4 separate regions of the Homo sapiens genome follow, and regions 1, 2 and 4 are each linked to region 3. The links are contacts of gene promoters, found by promoter capture Hi-C in blood cells and fetal thymus (Javierre and others, 2016). All regions are on one chromosome and are shown on one strand. Each heading gives the region's core, a stretch centred on a gene start or on the middle of the fragment in contact. The rest is flanking DNA. Distances are from core to core; before and after follow the strand shown. Region 1 overlaps ASMER1 (adipocyte associated metabolic related lncRNA 1). Region 2 overlaps LOC105369292 (a long non-coding RNA gene). Region 3 holds the start of NRIP1 (nuclear receptor interacting protein 1). Region 4 overlaps ASMER1 (adipocyte associated metabolic related lncRNA 1).

Region 1 (2,995 bases), core at 194-2,693, 200 kb after region 3:
CTTCTACACGTCTATGAGGCAGCACTGTCTGTAACAGTGTGTGTCAGGTGCAGGGACTTTTCCAGCTGTCTCATGACTGTTAGGCAACATTGCCTTTTCCTGGGACTTTCAGCTGGGCTGGCTATGGTCTTTTTAGATTTAGCTTTGGGAAGCTGCCCCCTGCTGGGCTTCGGTTGGTGTGAATGGCCTGGACTTAGGAAGGGGCACTGCTGTAGTTGGCCCTGAATGGACCCTGGACTTTGGAGCCTCCTGGATGACACAGTTGCTTACCCTCGTGTTATCAATCTGAAAAACCTCATCAAGTGATACATTTCCAATCTCCTGACTGTCCTGTGACTTATTTGATGGTATTAAGCAAAGCTCAGGTCAGAAGGATTGTCATAAAATTGTTGACTGGACTCTTTCTCAGGAAAAGTTTAGCATGTCCTGGCAACTTTTAGGCTCATACCACTAACTCTGAGAGGTCAAGGGTTTTATGTAGAATGGTAACCTTCTTAAAATTGAGGTTTTAATAAACAGAGCTACGCATAGCAGACTCATCCCTGGTCTTACAGAGAGGATGTCAAATGGCTGAACCATGTGCTTTCTCAAAGTCAGTGACAGCAGAGATGAGGAAGGGGTTGATGATGTAAGAGAGAGCTGGGACAAAGGCCAAGTCAATACCAAATGAGTTGTCATTCTCCCTATGCTTTTCATACACACCCAAGCGTTTCACTCGGGAGATACCAGAGCAAAAGGAAGATAAATGCTACATGTAGTTCGTTCTGATATAACTGTCACTAGCACATGGTGCACACGCTCCATGAGAACACTTCTGTTTCATTAATCATGCTCTTTTGAAAATGTGACTAAATGTAAGTGATGTCAATTTCCAGTGCTGCTTTTGCTTTATAAGTAGGCTTTGAGGATTTAACCATATTTGGTAGATGCTAATATTTCTGTGTTGGCCATGAGAAAGATTATTATAGTACACAATGTAGTAAAATATTTGTCTTATGTAAAGAGAGAAATAATCATTTTTATTTACATTCCTGTGCAACTCGGGTCAGTCTGCCCTAAGGAGTTTTATTTTCTAAAGAATAAGCCTAGGAAATGATTTCATCATAGATTCAAGTAACAGCGTGAAACAAACACAGCCTCGGGATTTTTGCTATGTGTAGTCCCCTTAATTTTCTAGAATAAGACAAAAGACTGTTGTAAATAATTTTGAATAAAACTCGGATTTGTTATTTAATTTTAAAGACCTCCCAGAGTTTGAGATAATCAAAACAAACTTATTTTGTGCTCAGATTAAGAGCAAAATAACAAAACTAATCTACTAGTGATAGACTTTTAAATGCAAATTTAAAACAAGATACATATCTTTCAAAGGATGATTTTCTTCTTGTCATAAAAGACAAATTACTGAAATGCCTTTAGAGATTTATATTTGTATATTGCATTTATAACAATGATAAATCTCAGTTAACAATAAAAGGTTAAATTATGTCTTAAATGTAGGAAAATATAGGAAAGGTAAGGATATTTTTATTTTTATTTTTTTTAAGGAGCAAATAGGGCAGAAATTAGAGTGGCCAGCAGGGGGCTTCTTTTAGGTTTCTTTCCCTTTCCCATAAATTAAAACCTAACCTAAAAATATAGTTTACTCTTTAGTTTTATAAATAAGGAATAAAGAGACAAACAATGGCTGCTAAATTTTCATTGCTTCCACTAGTTTAAACAAGACACGTTTTACTTCTCTTTAGTTAATTCCTCTCTCCTGCTTACTTCCCTTCCTACCACTATTTTTTCTCAAGACCTGTAAAGTGATCCCTGCAGTCTGGATTGGCCAGTGCTGCCTCTGCCTCCATCCTCAACCAAAGTTCTATCTTTGCAAACCTTCCAGGGAGGATTTTAATGATGAACTCCCCACCAAATAGAAATGAAAAGTAAATTAAGAGCAAAGAAGCATATTCTATATTGATGATTTAAATGGTAGTTATAAAAATCTAGTTGCACTCTGAACCTCCTTTTGAGAGGGACTTTCTGAAATCATGGGCTTGAGTGTAGTAGTATAATAGGCAGTGAATGGCCATGTAACATGACATTTTAAAAGAGTGCTGTGTTTTCCCAAGAATTTGAGAGTTTGTGAAAGACCTCCAGAACTAGTAGGCAGATTCTGACTCATTTTGTAATATAGCTCCAAATTATCTTTCTATCCTTTCTTACATGCATAAGAAGTGAATGTAAGAACCATAATTTTTACTTCCTTTTTGTGCCCATTTTATAAAGGTAGGCTCAAAACCTTAATGATAGAGCAGAGCAATTCACCAGAGAGTGAATTAGAGGCAAAATTGTGATAGTCTGTGTTATCCAAGTGAAATCTCAAGAGAAATTGAAACTGACATCATGTAACTTTTTAAAATAAGAATTAGGTCCTGACAGAAAAAAAAAAGTGGTATATCTATAACAATTTTTGAAGTTCCAAGTAAATAAAAAGCCAGGAATTCCAAGTTCAATATGTAAGACAAAAAATTATGTTAGGATTTTGTTTTAACATTGATATGGTTTGGCTGTGTCCCCATTCAAATCTCAACTTGAATTGTATCTCCCAGAATTCCCACATGTTGTGGGAGGGACCCAGGGGACGGTAATTGAATCATGGGAGCTGGTCTTTCCCGTGCTATCCATGATAGTGAATAAGCCTCACGAGATCTGATGGGTTTATCAGGGGTTTCCACTTTTGCTTCTTCCTCATTTTCTCTTGCTGCTGCCATGTAAGAAGTGCATTTCACCTCCTGCCATGATTCTGAGGCCTCCCCGGCCACATGGAGTTGTAAATTCAATTAAACCTCCTTTTCTTACCAGTCTTGGGTATGTCTTTATCAGCAGTGTGAAAATGGACTAATACAGTAAATTGGTACTGAGAGTGGGGTACTGCTGAGAAGATACCCAAAAATGTGGAAGCAACTTTGGAACTGGGTAACAGGCAGAGGTTGAAACAGTTTGGAGGGCT
Region 2 (3,323 bases), core at 681-3,180, 210 kb before region 3:
ATCAGAGCTTGCTCTGCTTCCAAGCTCTCTGTCTGCTGAAAACATCTGAGCTTTAACCAACAATAAAATCTTACATTACCACTCATTGGTGCACACTACGCAGCAGTGATGGTGTGCTGAGGTTGTTATTGAAAAATGTTCATTTCACTTATTCATTCATTTAACAGTTGAGTGCCGCCAGGCATGGTGGCTCATGTCTGTAATCTTAGCACTTTGGGAGGCCGAGGAGGAAGGATCACTTGAGCTCAGGATTTCAAGACCAGCCTGAGGCAACATACTGAGACCTCATCCTTATTTTTTTTTTAAATAAAAAAACAGTTGAGTGCTATCAGTAACTGTTCACAAGCTTGGAGACAGTGGGTGACTAGGAAAACGTCCTTGTTCTTAGCCAACTCACCTTGAAAGAGGAGGAAACAAATTATAAACAAGTCATTGAGTAAATACTCCAAAAATCTTCAGGTAGAGAAAACCACTATACGTAAAATACAACACAGAGAATGAAAATGTTAACTTAAATGAAGTGCATCAAGAAAAAACCAAGAGCAATAAGTCACCCGGTAATGTCATTTGACCTGGCAACACCTCTGGTCCCATGATCCTGGCTGGAGAATGTCCTTTTGTTTTTTTCACCTAGTTAGTAATTTGACAAATCATCATTTTATCCCCAAGGTCCAACATCGAAAGCATTTCTTGGCCTGTCTTTTGGGCTTTCGCCTCCAAAAGCCTGCACTGCCGACTCTCAATTTTGCTTTCATTCCGATCTTATGTTTGCCACATTCTTCACCTACAAAGCGACCTCCTGATTTTTGACTCAGCTCACATGTGATTTGATTCTTGCAAAACCCTTTTGGAACTCAACTGTCTAAAGACCTAGAAATGTGTTTCTGTAGGACTGCAAAAAATTGCACTATGAATGGCAGCCTAATAGTTCTCTTAATGCAGAGCAGGGAAGTGTTTCTTTCTTCTACTGCCTCTCTTTGCTGGTACAGAAGACTCACGAAATCTCAACATGGTGTTTGGCCCTTTCCCACATGCGGTATGAAAAGACTTTAATTATTATTGAACTTTAGTCCCCAAGGGACTTGAAAGCATTTGAAAATTCATTTTACTAGCAAAATAAATCTTTTTGTATTCTTTTGGGTTTTATAACATTGATGTTAGATTTAATTAAAAGTGAAGAAATCCTAAAAATGATTCTAGCTAGTGGTTAATTTTATGTTTTTATACAATTACTATAACCTAATAGGTAGCTAGTTTTCTAAAATGTTAGATAACTAACATTTTAAGGCTGCAGCATAACTAATTTTCTGCACAGAAGATGCTAAATGCAAAGGCAAATGAGTGGAATCTTCAGAGCTTTATAAGCTTCCTACACACACAAGCCACTACGAATGCCCAGGCAGTGGCTAAGTGTTGCTCCTGGGCATGTCATCTGCTAATGGGCTTCCTAACCCTAAATTCTTCTCTGTGGTTCCACAGAGAAAATACTCATGATCTCATCTAGGTCTCCCTGTTGTGTCTTTGCCACAAAGTATATTTCCCCATATGGGGTTCTTTTCAAAATGCAAGCCACTACACACTTTCTTTTTACAAGTTGGATCCCAGGTCTATAACACTGTCTCCTGCTGTGTTGAACATATGTTCAGAGTCTTTCTACTTATTTTTCTTTCCCCACTTGCTTTCCCACTGGTTATTTCCCATACCAAATTGCTTGACAAAATGAAGTTAGTAACATTAGCTTGCATGTTTTTGTGAGCCAGGTCTTTTACATCCTAAAATATCCCATAACACAGAGAATAGCATGCTATGCATCTTATGCTTCAACAAATATCTGTTGAAAGAATAAATGGATGGCTCCTTTTTGTAACTTCTGTAAGTGACATTCAACCGATGTGACATTCTCTTTATTAAATAAATGTTTACACTCCATCAACTTATTACATATACTGATTAACAGAAGTGGGGCTTGGGAGTGACTCAATTAGCTAACCAGTTGTCCATAAGGATTGGAAAGGGAAACCAAAATAAGCCTGGAGACAAGTCATTTTCAATAAAGATGTCTTGAATGGAGATAAACTGGACTGATTTTACATCACAAAAAAATAGCAAAAAGTGCTTTAAGCAGGACAGGAAGTACAAGAATGGCAAATGAATGTATTGGCTTTTAAAAAATAAATAAATAAATTCAAGTCATCAAAAAGTTGTTCAGTAGTATGGTGAATCAGTTATTCAGCTGCAAAGGCACAGTTGAGGGAGAAGATAGATAGCATTGAAGGAGTTATTATTCAGAAAAAGATAATGTTTTTCACAAAAAACCTCCTTAAATAGAAAATAGTCATTATGAACATAATACTCTAATTTATGATATCAAAGATGAAGAGCAGTCAATATTTTCCATAATGTATTAAGGATGGGAAGGTTCTAAGCGCCCTTTGACCCATACCTGTGTCTCTCTCTGAAAAGCAAGACACAGAGAATCTTCCCTCTAAGCTTTCCTTTACAATTCATGAACATAAAATATTAGGTTCGATGCAAATTTATTAGGTTTACCAAATCAATTTTTTTTCCTAATATGTGCATAAAATACTTAATTAGAAAAAAATTGTAAAACATTCTTAAAATTAATATCATTAGAATGAATTTACACACTGAATATCCAGACCTGACCATGGGATGTCAACCAGGAAGTCCAAAGGTGAGCCTCAGTGCCCTTCCTTCATTGCCTGGTGATGGACAAGCTATCTTGGAATCCCGCATTTACTCCAGCTGCATTTCAAAACCAAATTCCCACAGGATGGGTGGCTCCCAGGAGAAGATGTTGCAATCTCCCATGGGCTCACTAGGTCTCCAGGAGCTGAGCTGTGACAGCTGGCACCTAACCTATTAGTAACTGAGTCCAAAACATCAAGCCCTCCACCTGAAGGGAAATTTGCATATCATACACTTACTCAAACATCGTTTGTTATTCCAGCCATGAACTCTGATCAGTTTTCTATAAAGGCAATCTGACAATACCTCCCCTCAGGCATTGGATAAGAACCCCTCGATCCTGTGCTAGGACGCCTCTCACACAAAGAGAAGACTGATAGAAATTGCAGAGTAAATTAATGCCCCCTGGGACAATTTTTGGCCATTGAGAGACAGATGCCAATGGGTGAATATTTCCCCTTTTTTTCCCTTTGAGCTGATGATCCCAAGACATGTGTCATACCACTCAGGCTGTTCCACAGTGTTGAGCAACTTGTCAGCCAACTTGTCAGTGACTAAATGGATAACTTATACTGGGTCATTTGCTCTCTTTCTGTGTATTTCTTTGCCCATCT
Region 3 (3,242 bases), core at 61-2,560:
CTGTACTTTAGCTTTTTTGTGTCAAGCAAAAACAATTTCAGCAACAACACTCGCTTCCCCTGGTAATTTTTTTCATGGCGAATTACTAAATGCTAGATGCTCAAGTCAAAAAGAAACCTGACATCTGGGGAGGTGTTGAGGGGGTGTTAATAGTTCTAGTGAGATGTCTGGGGAGCGTTGAGGATACGATTTTTCAAACAGCAAATACAAGGATAAGGGGAAATTATGGTTTCGTATGACTCTCTCCTCCTTCCACTTTCTCGTTTCACCAATCTGTGGCCCCCCCAATTTAGAGGCGGGTTCAGTGAGATTAGGCTGCAGGAAACCGAGAGGCTCCACCGCGCTGCCGCCCCGGCCTCGTGATGTAATTGTTATTTCTTATTCGGAGACCGAACCGAGGAGAGCTGCTGAAGAAGTAGCAGCCCTGCTCCTTTTCCCTTGTCTTGTTGGGTCAGATCCTTCCCGGGGATGATGCAGATTGGCTGACAGACTCCGCTGGAGACTTCGCAGTGACAAAGCAGCCGAGGATTAACCCTGCTCCTGGGTCCTACGTCTGTCCAGGGAGCTGAGCGGGGCGCTCCTCAGGTCTCCTTCCTAGTTTTCCTCCCAGAGTCGCTCCACACGAGTGCTGGGCGCCTACTACGTGCTGGGCGTGGGGTCAAAGTGACCCAGAGTTCGCGCCCGTGCCCCCCAACATTAAAGCAGGACACACAGATTACAAGGAGATAGAAATTGGGGGTGGGTGGGTGAAAGGGGGCCCAGAGAGCGCGTGTTGTGGGGTGAAGGGGAGGAGGTAGACGCTTAAGGCAGGCGGGGACCCTGGAGCGTCTGGGGCGCCCCGGCCCCCAGGCTGTGCCCAAACGGGAGCATTCGGCCTGGGTCCCAAGAGCGCTTTCCCCGGTCCCCAGGAGGAGCTGTCCAGGCGCCTGCAGCGGTCGCGGGCGGCTGGACAGAGCTGGGAGCCCGGGGGACGGCCCGGGCGCGCCGTGCAGCCCCTCTCTCGGGGACGCGGTCCTCTCGCTGCCTCCGGGTCTTGCAGCCCCGTCTGGGACACCCGGAGAGCAGGCGAGAAGGAAATCCACGAAACAGAGGGGGTTCCGCAGCTCCTGTGAGCCGCCCGGATCCGCGCGGCTTCCTCCTGACCGGGTGACAATGGGAGGGAGGGGGAGAAAAGGGTTAAGAAACTTGGCTGAAGAGCTGAATGGCGTGGGGCGGCGAGGGGAGGGACTGGGCCGCGGCGGACTCGGCGGCGGAGGGAGGAGCGCGGCTGCGGGCGGGCGGTGAGCGAGGCGCTCAAAGTCAGCCTCGCAGACATTGCAGCAGAGCCCCGAACTCGGGAGGCGGCGGCGGAGGAGGCGGCGGCGAGGCGCAGGGACGACCCGGCCCCACGCCCGCCCGCCACCCGCGCGCGCCCGTCCGCCCGTGGCCTCGCGTCCGCCGCTGCGCCGTGAGCGCCGCTGGTCGGAGGGAAGAGCTCGCCGGGGCGCCGGGCCAGGACGGGGCGGCAGGCGCCTTCGCGGACCGAGCCTGACGGAGCCGGAGGCTGGGAGCCGCGGCGGCCTGGGGTGAGTGACGGCCGCGGCCAGGGCGCCAGGAGTAGCGGCCGCCGGCGCCGCCGGAAACGGCCCGGGAGCGCGGCCCGCGTCGGCTCTCGCTTGGCTGGCAGGGCCGCGGGGGCGTCGGGGCGGCGGGGAGGGCGCGTTTCCGGGGAAATCCTGCCTCTGCTGCCTGGTTCGAGTCTCCGGGTTCTCGCGGGGGGCCGGGGCGGCGGGCCGGCAAGTTGTGGAGTGGCCCCGGGTCGGCCCGCCCGTCCGTGCCAGTTCTGGGCAAGGGGGCGGCCGTCGCGTGGCCCCTGAGCGGGGCCGGACTCGGGGGGCCGGGTCGGGGTTGCCCCCGCTCGCTTGCCCTCTCGGTCCCGAACCCCGGGCACCGCTCGCCTCGCCGCTCTCCGTCCTGCTGTCCAGCCGGATCCTGGGCGGCGCCTTTCGCCTGGGTGCCTCCCTGCTCCTTGCTCGCTGGATACCCGGCTGGGAAAGTGAATAGGAAAAGGGACAGCTCGCCCGGCCCCCACCCGACCCCGGGCCGCTCTGCCCGCACTCGCGGTCCCCTCCCGATGGCGAGGCTCACGGACCCGAGGCCTCAGCCATCATTTTACCAGGAGCCAGGGGCCGGCCCCCATTTAGGGTGAGCCCGGTGGAAGTCCGGGAGGCTGCCTTTTCTCCCTTCTTCTGTGTCCACCTTATTACGATTGAATATTGTTTTATGAAGGTTTCCGTGGATGTATTCTGCAGACCCTCCCATCCCTTCCAAAGTAGTTTCCCAATTTTGATCAGGAGTTGGTGTTCAGTCAGAAGGAACAAAGGAACCAACTGTGTCTTAGAGGCGGACAGGCTGGGAGTCTGTGACACATGTTGATCTCTGAAGCATTCCAGGAGTTTCTACCTTTTATCACGTCAATAATTGGCTGCTGAAGGTAGTAAAAGAAGTACGGAATGATAAGCACTTTTGCGTTTTAAAAATATTTTTTAATGGCACATTTTACTTTGGGGAAAAAAGACGTTCTTAGGCACAAGGATTTTTAAAAACCCAGTTGGTGGAACTGAGTTGGAGTTTGTTTCTGGTATTGTAAATGATTACATGTGGGATTGTGAAGGAAATTGTGTCCTTAGAGGAAGAGAAGCCATCTGTAGGTGTCCATAGTAAAAATGGTTGTCGGGTTATATGTGATGAATGCTCTTTCTGTTTCTTGGGGGAATTTGTGAAGCAAGGGGCTTCGGTAATTCATTCTTTAAAGTTATGAATTGCATTGAACCTGCTTATTAGTGAATCATAGGTTTAGTAAGTGGGTGGCATTATTCAGTGTTTAATCATCAGTTTTCCACCTTTGTTGAAGAGACAGTGAAATAATAGACTTTTTAAACAAATGGTGTTTCATCTGCCTGGCCCCTAAGTGTCGGTTGCCGCCTGGAGTATGTTGAAGTGTTTTTCACCTTCCAAGTAAGTGAGTTGCTCTGGTTTTGCCCGGCAGTTCGGTAACGTCGATAGGGTTTATTTGGTTCAGGGAGCACTGGCTTCATCACCTACAGTAACTTTTTTTCTGCCTGGGCATAGTTCCTAGAGACAAAGAAGGAGAATCAATTAGTGGAGCGGCTACTGCCCTGCAGGTTGTAGGATTGGTTGTTCTAGTCTGTTTCATACTCTGGTGGAGAAAGACCTCTTTCCAAACTTACCTTTAAAAGTGC
Region 4 (3,308 bases), core at 456-2,955, 190 kb after region 3:
TTCAGGTGGAAGAAAACTTATTCCTTAAGAGAATTATGAAAAATAAGGTATTCTTAAATTGGCAATCCATTTGTGACCCCTAGTGCCAATGGTGGCTTCTAACATCTATTCCCATTTCACAGTGTCTTGCTGTGCATTGATTCTCATCCTTAAGTTCTCATCATCCCCAGTATCACCTGGGAACAGTTAAAAACCTTAATGACCCAAATCTACTCCATTCCAGTGAATTCAAAATTTCTAGAACTGAGACCTAGACATCAAAAATATCTTAAAGCTTCCAGGTTATACCAACTACAGCCAAAGTTGAGAACTGCTAACCTAGTGGTGTGCTGGCAAGAAGAGCATGAGACCACTCTAGTGTATACCCTGCTAAGTCTCAGCTCTCCTATGCCATCCTTTAGGATATACACTGAATCCCTTTTCTGTCAGGTTTCAGTCTATATTTCTAAAAAAGGACTTCCTTGAGAATGGTATTGGAGTTCACTTCCTCAAATAGATCAGAATTTATTGTTGGAGGCAGAAAAATTAGCTAAGTGTTACAATACTGTAAGATAGTTACTCTGGTGTTAGTCTTTGCACAGATTGCTGTGGAAGAGACACTTACATTCAGAGAGGCAAGGGGAGGTGAAGTGTGTAGGAAGAGAAGCACTGAGGCAGAGTACAGGGTCCCAGGGATGAAGGACAAGAGGATTATTTTAGGTGGCGGGATCAGAATGTGTAAGGCACAAAGGCATCAAAGAACATGGCAAAGACTCAGGGTTCTCCCGGCACTTTGTTCATAGTATTTGTAGTATAGTCCCCACATTGTTGTGTCCAGTTCATTGTATACAGATTTAGTACTATTTCTATCCTATGAGGACTTTGAGGGTACATATGCCCAGAACACAGACAGCATGGCAGCATGGTCCTTGCTATATAATAGCCTCTCATGAATTAACCTGTTTTGCAGGGGGGAAACAAAGAAAGATTTAATACAGAATTCAGTCAGACAGAAGGTTGGAAATAACTAGCTTGAATATCATGAACTGACTTAAAGATTAAAAAAAAGGAACATAAATATTCATGGGAAAAAGATGAATTGAAACCAGAAGTTTCTCATGAATGTCATACCAGCTTAAATGTCTGAGTAGTGTCCAAATGAAATGCAGTGACTTCCTTTTGGTCAACATCCTAATCAATATGATCAGGTCTCTCAAATTGTATCCCATACTTCGAAGTCACACTTTGATTCATAGGGAATTTCCATTCTTCCTTACAGCTGTTGAGAGGGGAGTTCTAACAAGAGGAAGTAGCTCTGTGCACCTTCCTCACTTCCTTCCTGGCTGTGTCATTCCTGGGTCTGGGTCACCAGCTGCATCCAGGAGTCCCAGAGGGTGTCGTGAATGTTACTCACAGTGTAAATGGATCTAGAACACAACTTACTTAGAGCCATATCTTCTAGTTTTGATTTGTGTTAGAAGTGATCACAAAGTCGTTTAAACTTAAATGACACTGTCGAAACTGACATCAGTGAAAAGTATTTATTATAAACGTGTTCATTGTATATCTTAATTTCAAGGCTCTTACCGTTTTCTGTGCTTAAGTATTCTCTAATGAGAATCTTTACAAAAATTATTAAGGTGGGAAGCAAGTGGTATTATTCGCATTTAGATAGATAAACGGTGACAAAGATGCTTTCTTAAAAAGTTTTTAAACAAATATTGAGTCACAGGTAGGACTTGTTTAAACAAGTGAAAGCATTTCCAATAAGTACACATTGAAAAAAACGGACACATGGGTTGCATGAAATAACAGCTTCATGTGATCATCTCAGGGAGTTTTCCTAAGCATGCTGATTGGATTGGGTTAGTATTCGGTCAATGGCTTTTCCATACTTTTAAAGTTTGCCATCATTACTTCAAGAAAGTGAGTCTTGTCACTATCATTAAATACTTATTTGGAGCTCTGTAGCTATTTATTTCACTTCTTGTTTGAGCTTTAACACTGTGAAGATCTCAGATATTTTCCATTCATTATTCATATGAGGTTCATTGGATATATTCATCCATTTCTTTATTTTCTCTGCATCTGATATGGTTTGGTTTTGTCCCCACCCAAATCTCATATTAAATTCCCACGTGTTGTGGTGGGTCGGGGGGACCTGGTGGGAGGTCTTTCCCATGCTGTTCTCATGATAGTAAATAAGTCTCACGAGATCCGATGGTTTTATAAGAGGAAGTTTCCCTGCCCAAGCATTTTTTTTTTTTTGCCTGTGCCATCCATATGAGACATGCCTATCACCTTCCACCATGATTGTGAGGCTTCCCCAGCCAAGTGGAACTGTAAGTCCACTAAACCTCTTTCTTTTGTAAATTGCCCAGTCTCAGATATGTCTTTATCAGCAGCAAAACGGACTAATACAGCATCCTCTACCATTTTCAGCAAACTCCTTTTTATTCTGTAGTACTTTATATCTCTGATTTAAATCACATTTGCTGTTCTTGAATTCCTGTTTGAGCAAAACAAATAAACAAACATAAATGGCGTAGAATTAGTTGAAGAAATTGCCTTAAGGTAAGGCTCCAAATCTGACTATTTTAAAATATCTTAGGTTTATCTCTTTTAGATATGCCAATCTCAGGGCAGAGGTAGGTGAGGAAAGAGCTTATATGACTGCCCCTTCTCTGAGATTCAAAAAACGAGAAAATAAATTCTGTTGTTCAATTCTAAGACAAGTGGAAAAGATCAAAGACTTTATTACAGTTTTTTTATTTTTATTGAGCAGATTCACTTGGAACTTTGGCTTGCATGTGGAATGTTTACCTTTTAATAAGTGATCTGTTTAAATGTGGATCAGAGAACAAGGGTTTCTGTTTTACAGTTCAACTTTTGACCTTGGGGGATGAATGGGTGGAGGCTAAGAGGAAAAGTCCACTGTGTTTCTGCTGAACTTTTTACCCTTAAGAAAAAAATGAGCAAGTTTAAAGTTCACACAGTGCACAAGAGGTCTCCGCTGGGGATTTCTCGTATTATTAACTTCCTGACCTCAGATAATTAAAAAGGAAGAGCAGAGCCACCTCAGACTGTGACTCAACTTTGAACTTTTAACCTCCCAAGTAAAGTATTTAAATTGTAAATGGTAGACCCTGGAAGCTTTCTTATTGCTATTAAATTCCTTCATCCTTGGTCACAAAGTTATAATCTAGGCCAAAAGCATAGCCTGATCTTTCCTTTTTATTTACTTAACCTCTTTTAACAGAAAGGACTGAGAACACTATTTACCTAGAAATGACAGGTATTCTGGTGAAAGAAGTTAAGCTTAAAGGGTC

Evidence for each region. Contacts are between HindIII fragments. The CHiCAGO score rates a contact against its expected background, and 5 or more counts as called.
Region 1: a contact is called between a fragment that was not itself captured here and the fragment with the promoter of NRIP1 in region 3, in 4 of 17 cell types (megakaryocytes, M0 macrophages, M1 macrophages and 1 more). The highest score is 8.9, in megakaryocytes.
Region 2: a fragment that was not itself captured here is called in contact with the fragment with the promoter of NRIP1 in region 3 in 1 of 17 cell types (megakaryocytes); the score reaches 5.9 in megakaryocytes.
Region 4: a contact is called between a fragment that was not itself captured here and the fragment with the promoter of NRIP1 in region 3, in 1 of 17 cell types (endothelial precursors). The highest score is 6.0, in endothelial precursors.

What each region holds. Positions count from the first base shown.
Region 1 is chr21:14,861,588-14,864,582 of GRCh38, reverse strand. All of the region lies in intron 1 of ASMER1 (adipocyte associated metabolic related lncRNA 1), which reads left to right. Among named protein-coding and RNA genes, the nearest start is that of ASMER1, 56 kb to the left of the region's middle. The HindIII fragment of the contact is 3,251 bases long and covers 1-2,995 here.
Region 2 is chr21:15,275,942-15,279,264 of GRCh38, reverse strand. All of the region lies in intron 2 of LOC105369292 (a long non-coding RNA gene), which reads left to right. Among named protein-coding and RNA genes, the nearest start is that of LINC02920, 210 kb to the right of the region's middle. The HindIII fragment of the contact is 1,125 bases long and covers 1,368-2,492 here.
Region 3 is chr21:15,063,068-15,066,309 of GRCh38, reverse strand. It overlaps NRIP1 (nuclear receptor interacting protein 1), which reads left to right and starts at 1,310. Exons shown (of 4, transcript NM_003489.4): 1 at 1,310-1,565. RefSeq lists enhancers at 409-458, 2,909-2,958 and silencers at 789-968, 1,219-2,078. The HindIII fragment of the contact is 10,218 bases long and covers 1-3,242 here.
Region 4 is chr21:14,877,626-14,880,933 of GRCh38, reverse strand. The region is part of intron 1 of ASMER1 (adipocyte associated metabolic related lncRNA 1); the gene reads left to right. Among named protein-coding and RNA genes, the nearest start is that of ASMER1, 39 kb to the left of the region's middle. RefSeq lists enhancers at 1,112-1,406, 2,815-2,884. The HindIII fragment of the contact is 2,858 bases long and covers 277-3,134 here.